Linked DNA regions of Homo sapiens: region 2 is linked to region 1. Evidence: promoter capture Hi-C in human tissues and cell types (Jung and others, 2019). All regions are on one chromosome and are shown on one strand. The core of a region is centred on a gene start or on the middle of the fragment in contact, and the rest is flanking DNA. Distances in the headings are between cores, read along the strand shown. Region 1 holds the start of SMOC2 (SPARC related modular calcium binding 2). Region 2 has its middle 15 kb from the start of DACT2.

What was found. Contacts are between HindIII fragments. The study calls those that stand out against the background at their distance.
Region 2: a contact is called between a fragment that was not itself captured here and the fragment with the promoter of SMOC2 in region 1, in 2 of the 25 tissues and cell types used here (bladder and spleen).

Annotation. Positions count from the first base shown.
Region 1 is chr6:168,439,787-168,442,627 of GRCh38, forward strand. It overlaps SMOC2 (SPARC related modular calcium binding 2), which reads left to right and starts at 1,398. Exons shown (of 13, transcript NM_001166412.2): 1 at 1,398-1,668. The coding sequence starts at 1,585. The HindIII fragment of the contact is 15,076 bases long and covers 1-2,841 here.
Region 2 is chr6:168,303,114-168,306,065 of GRCh38, forward strand. It overlaps a transcript of DACT2 not described here. Among named protein-coding and RNA genes, the nearest start is that of DACT2, 15 kb to the right of the region's middle. The HindIII fragment of the contact is 6,763 bases long and covers 1-2,952 here.

The sequences.
Region 1 (2,841 bases), core at 148-2,647:
CCCAGGAGCAGTCCCTCAAGAGTTTTATTATAATTTCCTTCTAAGTCCTTAAACCAGGAGGAATGTGTTTAAGTGCTTAATAGATTCCCTGGGCTTTGGAATTTTAAGGAGAATTCTGAGAGTAGCCCTCCTTCAGGAAAAGGTGCATTTCTTTCCCGTCTTTCCGTGGCCCGACGGACATCACTTTCCTGATAAAATTGTGTGGGAAAGGTTGCAATAGCATTGCCTTTGCCTCAGCAGCCAGTCCCAGAACTTGCTGATACAGCCCCCTCCCCCAAAGTTCATAGCCAAAGCAGTGGGCTAGACATCGGATGAAACCTCAGATTTGGATTTTCTGTGTTTTGTGCTTTTCCCAATGCCCCTGACAAGTCAATTGATTCATTGTTCTTGAACAAATCTTCACTCTTCTGGCTTTCTGTGTGAGACAGAATTAGGGCTTTTTCCTGTAAAGTTATAAGCCAAGGCTAAACTATGTCAGCAATGTTGTCTGCAGTGGATATTATCCAGAGTCTGGGTGTGCAAAAATTTCCTGGTTTCCAACGTAGTCTTCGTGGGTGAGTTTACAACCTCCACAAGCCCTGTGCTCCCCGCACAAACACCTGAAATGCTTTGACAGAGCTGTTTAAAAACAGCCACATGTGTCTGTGAATGATGCCCAACCACATGCTCCCCCGACTTGAGAGGATCAAGGCTACAGCCCAGGTCAGACCCCGGATCTTTAGGACCTAAATTCCCCCATCCCTGCAGTGGATAACCCCGTGTAAAGATGCCAAAGGCGGGCTGCCCCCGGCGCAGCCTTTCCTGGACATGTGTTCCCAGCTGCCTTTGCTGGAGCGCCGCTGATCCTTCAGCACCTCTGAGAGGCAATGTTCTGGGCTGGACCAGGGGGCCTTAGAGGGCAGAGGTCAAGGAGAACCCCGGAGTCTGGGGACCGGCCAAGGCTTGGCGTTAACCTTTGTGGATGAAAAGTCCCGCTGGGCTGATCCTGCGCGGACCGGGCCTGGACCCTGGGGCGTGAGGAGGGCGCGGTGCGTCCCGTGGTTGTGCTTGGAAGCCCCCCGAGGGTGCGCGCGCGTGGGTATGAGTGCGTGCGTGTGCCTGGGTGTGCGTGTGTGTAAGTGTGCACGTGTGTGTGTGAGAGTGCGCGCGGGGAAGGAGGCACAGAGACAGCCCGGACAGGCCACTGCGCAGCCCTGGTGGCCCCCGCTCCACCTCTCGCTCCGCAGACCCGCGCCAGGGAGGCCTCTGGGCCGCAGCGGGCACCGGAGCGGAGCGGGCGCGGCAGCGGGCGCTGGGAGGTGGGGCTGGGGGAGGAGAGGGGGAGGGAGAGAGGCGGGCGGGAGGGGAGGATCCGGGAAGCTCCGGGGTATTTGACAGGAGCGAGGGCGGACGCAAAGAACGCGGAGGACCTCTGGGTGCCTGCAGGGGAGCTGCTCCAGCCGGGCCGCCGGGAGCGGTGGGGAGAGCATCGCGGAGCCGCCCCTCCACGCGCCCGCCCAGCCGCGCTCGCCCACTGGGCTCTCCCGGCTGCAGTGCCAGGGCGCAGGACGCGGCCGATCTCCCGCTCCCGCCACCTCCGCCACCATGCTGCTCCCCCAGCTCTGCTGGCTGCCGCTGCTCGCTGGGCTGCTCCCGCCGGTGCCCGCTCAGAAGTTCTCGGCGCTCACGGTAAGCCCGGGCCCGCGGGACCTGGAGCTCAAGTGGTGCCGCCTCTTGCAGCCGGCCGGGTTCGGGTCCCCGCGCCCCGCTCCAGGCCCAGGCGCCTGGGCACGGGGAGCAGGTGGCCCCGGGGGCCGTGGAGCCTTCGCCTGCCGGCGAGGCTGGAGCAGGTAGGACGCAGCGTGCGCGCCTGGGACCCGGCTGGGATGGGCTTCTGGGGACCCTGCCCGCCGGGGTCCTGCTGCGGCTGCGACGGGCTCCTCGGGTTCCACCCGGCTGGGACCCCACCTGCCTCGGGGGCTCTGACCCGGCTGTGAGAGGATCCTGGGGTCCTGCAGACCCCGGACAAGTGGGAGCTGCGGGTGCGCTCGGGTGTCCCGCACTCACTGCTGGGCCTGAGCCTGTGGGGAACCAGGTCTGGGAGCGCCGGCGCCGCCCCGCGGACTGTCCCAAGGCCAAGACAGACCCGCCGGGACTGGGCGCCCACCTCGCCCACGGGGACCCGGCCTGGAGCGTGTTCTCCCGACCGCTTTGGGCTCGTGCGCCGCGCGGATCCCGGGCCTCTCGCCGGCTGAAGGGGCTGCCAGTCGTGGGCCCCACTCGTGGGTCTGACTCTCCCAGAGACCCTCGTAAGTGAGCCGAGGAAGAAGCAGATGAGGTTACAGATGATTCTTCACGGGCCTGAGTGTTATTAGAGAAGCGCTTTCTTCCCTTCTCAGGACAGAACTGGAGGCAGGCGGCGGCTCCCCGCTCTGCGGGGCCTCTGGGTTCTTCCTCGTGGCAGGGATGCTGCGCTCCTGAGCGCGAGGGTCACCGCGGTTGACCGCTGTGTGTTTTTCTTTCTGAGCTGTAACTTCTATGCGACAGCCTTGGCCCGGCCAACGCACGCGGTGTCAAACGAGGAGCTATGTAGAGGGGGCTGAGCCAAGCCCCCGCCGGCCAAGCCAACCCGCGGCGGCCGCTGGGCCAAGGCCGGGTGTCTGCAGCCCCCAGCTCCAGCCGTCCTCCTGGGCTTGCAGGGTTTGCAAACCCATCATTAATGCAATCGCCAGAAACGAAAACATTCCACTTAAATGTGTTTTTGAACAAGTGTTTGAGAAAACACGAAGGTAGTGAGAACGCCTCTGGTGGACAGCCGTCTTTTTTAAGTGGCCGGGGACTTGTCCTAAAGGTGTTTATTGT
Region 2 (2,952 bases), core at 137-2,636, 140 kb before region 1:
AATACATACTTGACCCGTAAGGTGGGACGGCATTAAATCCATTCCAGATGCGCTCCCGTTTTCCATCAGGCTTTATGTATTTAACGTTTAGGATCCAGTAACTGTACAGAACCTCGGATTCTGTCATAAGAGGGCTCTGCTATGGTTTGCGTGTGGTTTGTCTCCACCAAAACCTCTGCCAAAATTTGAAATTTGATCCCCAATGTGGTGGTGTTGGGAGGTGGGTCCTGGAGGTTTCTGGGTCATGGGGGCAGAACCCTCATGAATAGACCAACACAGTCCCTCAGAGCTAAGTGAGTTCTCGCTCTGGCGGAATGGCCTAGTTCCCGAGAGAGCAGGTGATTAAAAGAATGGCTTCCTCGGCTTCTGTCTCTTGCTTCTTCTCTCACCATGTGTCTCTTTACACACGCCCGGTCCCCTTCTGCTTTCTACCGTGGGTAGAAGCAGCATAAAGGCCTTATCAGATGCCACTGCCTGTCTAACTTTCCAGCCATGCATATCATGAGCCAAATAAGCCTTTTTTCTTTTTCAATTACCCAGTTCTGTTACAGCAACACAAAATGGACCAAGACAGGCTTTAATTATTCTACAAGCTGGAGCAAGAGGATGTAGAGAGAAAACTTTGCTGGGGTGCCCGCTTATATTCCTGAATTTGATCAGTAATGATACGCTCTGTTTTCTTCAATGATAACGTATGATTTGCTAAAGTAGGTTGGGACATTTTCCCTAATATTATAATTAAATCTTTCACAAATTCTTATAATTTAGAATTCCTGACATATTTTTTACTTTAGCTTAACTTTAATTCTTTATCCTTTCATTTTAGGATAGAAGAGGATAGGATATTTTAGGATAGAAAGGATAAAGAGCAACTTTATCCTGTTATTTTTATTTTTGTTAAAATATTTTTATTGTAAGCATGCTAGAAGTTAGTTCTAAAGACCCCGGAAGTCAAATTCTACATTGTCTACTTTTTAATCACTTGAGAGAGAGGGAAACAGCTCCTCTGTCTTCCAACGCACTTGAAGTCTGCCCCCGTCATCTAATCAATCACACCCCCTCAAATGACAGGCCACGCTCTGCCTTAGTGGGCTTCCTGGTTCATTTCTGCTTCTGTGTGAGTGGTTACAATTATGTCTGTTTAGAGGAAAAATATGCACAGAACATAAGACATTCAGGAGACGAATGTTCACCACAGGGCATCTCCATCCATCCTCTTTCTGCGCGCCTGCCTGGGCCACCTGGCCTTCTTGCAATATCCCTGTTCTCTGAATTCACAGTGCTTAAGACTCTGCCACGCCCATCAGCACCCTGTCGTCAGCCCTCTCAAAAACGGGCTTCTTATGACTGGCGTTCTAATTGTTAACTGTGTTTTAAAGCATTTCCCCAGGCTGCTATCTGCCCTGGGCCTGCACGTGGCATCTGCCCGCTCTTCCTGGTGGTGCCTGGGCGATGTTTGCAGATGGGTCAGGGAGGCTCACCAACTCTGCACACTATAGGGAGGCCATAACCTGGGCCGACTCACCCCTTGCCCCTACTGTGGGGAGCACAGACAGATGTGGGTCCCATTTTCAAACTGCCAGCTTACGCCTCCTTCCAAATCCTGAGGAGCTATCAGCTTCATTTGATGAAGGAGGAAGCCGACTCAGCCAGGCTATGAGGAGGCCAGGCGGGATGGGAACTGGAGACAGAGCTGTCCTCCTGTCCTGGGCTGCCTGGTCCCGCAGAACACTGAGCGGAGGCAAGGAGCCAGGGTGCCGGGTAGACGGGGCAGGAGGGCTAGGGAACCCTCCGAGGACCCCCATGGAATCTGTGAGAATTCTACTTCTTTACTCCAAAGCTACTGGAGAGTAGAAGAGCACTGGCAAGGCCTTGGGCCTCAGGCAAACTGAAATGCATGTTTGGGCCTCCACAGTTAAAATGGGGGAGAAAGAGAGAGCATGAGAGAGGGAGAGAGAGAGAAAGCAAAAGCCAGAGAGCACATTATTGAGGAAGAGAGAGAGGATGGAGAGACAAGGGAAGGAGAACGATTGATTGATTGATTGATTTGGACTGTCAGATCACTGAGGACCCTTCCTGCCCCCGATGCAACGGCTGCATTTTGTCTGGAGTCTGCATGGTTCTCCTGGTCAGCTTGCAGGACTGTGCGGAGCAGGAAGGAATTCGCTTGGCTGGAATGCACCCCTCCGGGCTGCAGGTTGGAAGCTGAATGTCTAGGAAACCACGCCTAGCTTTCTAAAAGACGGGCACTGTCAGAAAACCCTGAGGAGCCCAGACCCACTGCACTCACTCTCCTTATGGGCTGATTCCCTGTGATCTTGGCCTGCAACACGGAGTCGGAGCTGCCTAGAGTTGTGATACAAGCTAGGTCACCACGGAGGATGAACAGGAAGTTTGCACTTTCTGGAGAGTGCACTCAAGCTCCTGCGAAAAGCACCAATGAGTGAGCAGAATGTGTGACTCAATGGAACTTCCTAGCCACGTCTTCAGCCCGGTAGCTACAAAAACATGCGTGGACTGAGGCTGCGCCCACAGTCCTCAGTGAGGACGAGGACTCAGGCTACGGGGCTGTCGTCACAGCCTCACCTGCTAAGTGGTCCTGGAGAAGCCACGCTTCATTATAAAAATGTTGTCATTTTTATAAAATACCCTGTGAATTAACTTTTACAATAACACCCCCATCCATGAGTGGGTTTGAATCATCCTTTTAAATTTCAATGCAGGTGTTTAGAAAGCTTGAGGAAGATTCTGGCCTTCTGTTAGGAAGCAGATTTCAGGAAGGGCAGGTGAAATTGCACACAGACGAGCTCAATGGGTGTTTGAATCTGTCTGCTCTGACCCCTGGGAAATGCTTGCATTTTCTCGTGGTGTGCACAGAGAACAGACCCTGCCTCCACTGTCTTCACTGTCAGGGAGCTAAGCAGCAGCCTCCCCTCACCTACGCTTTGTTCC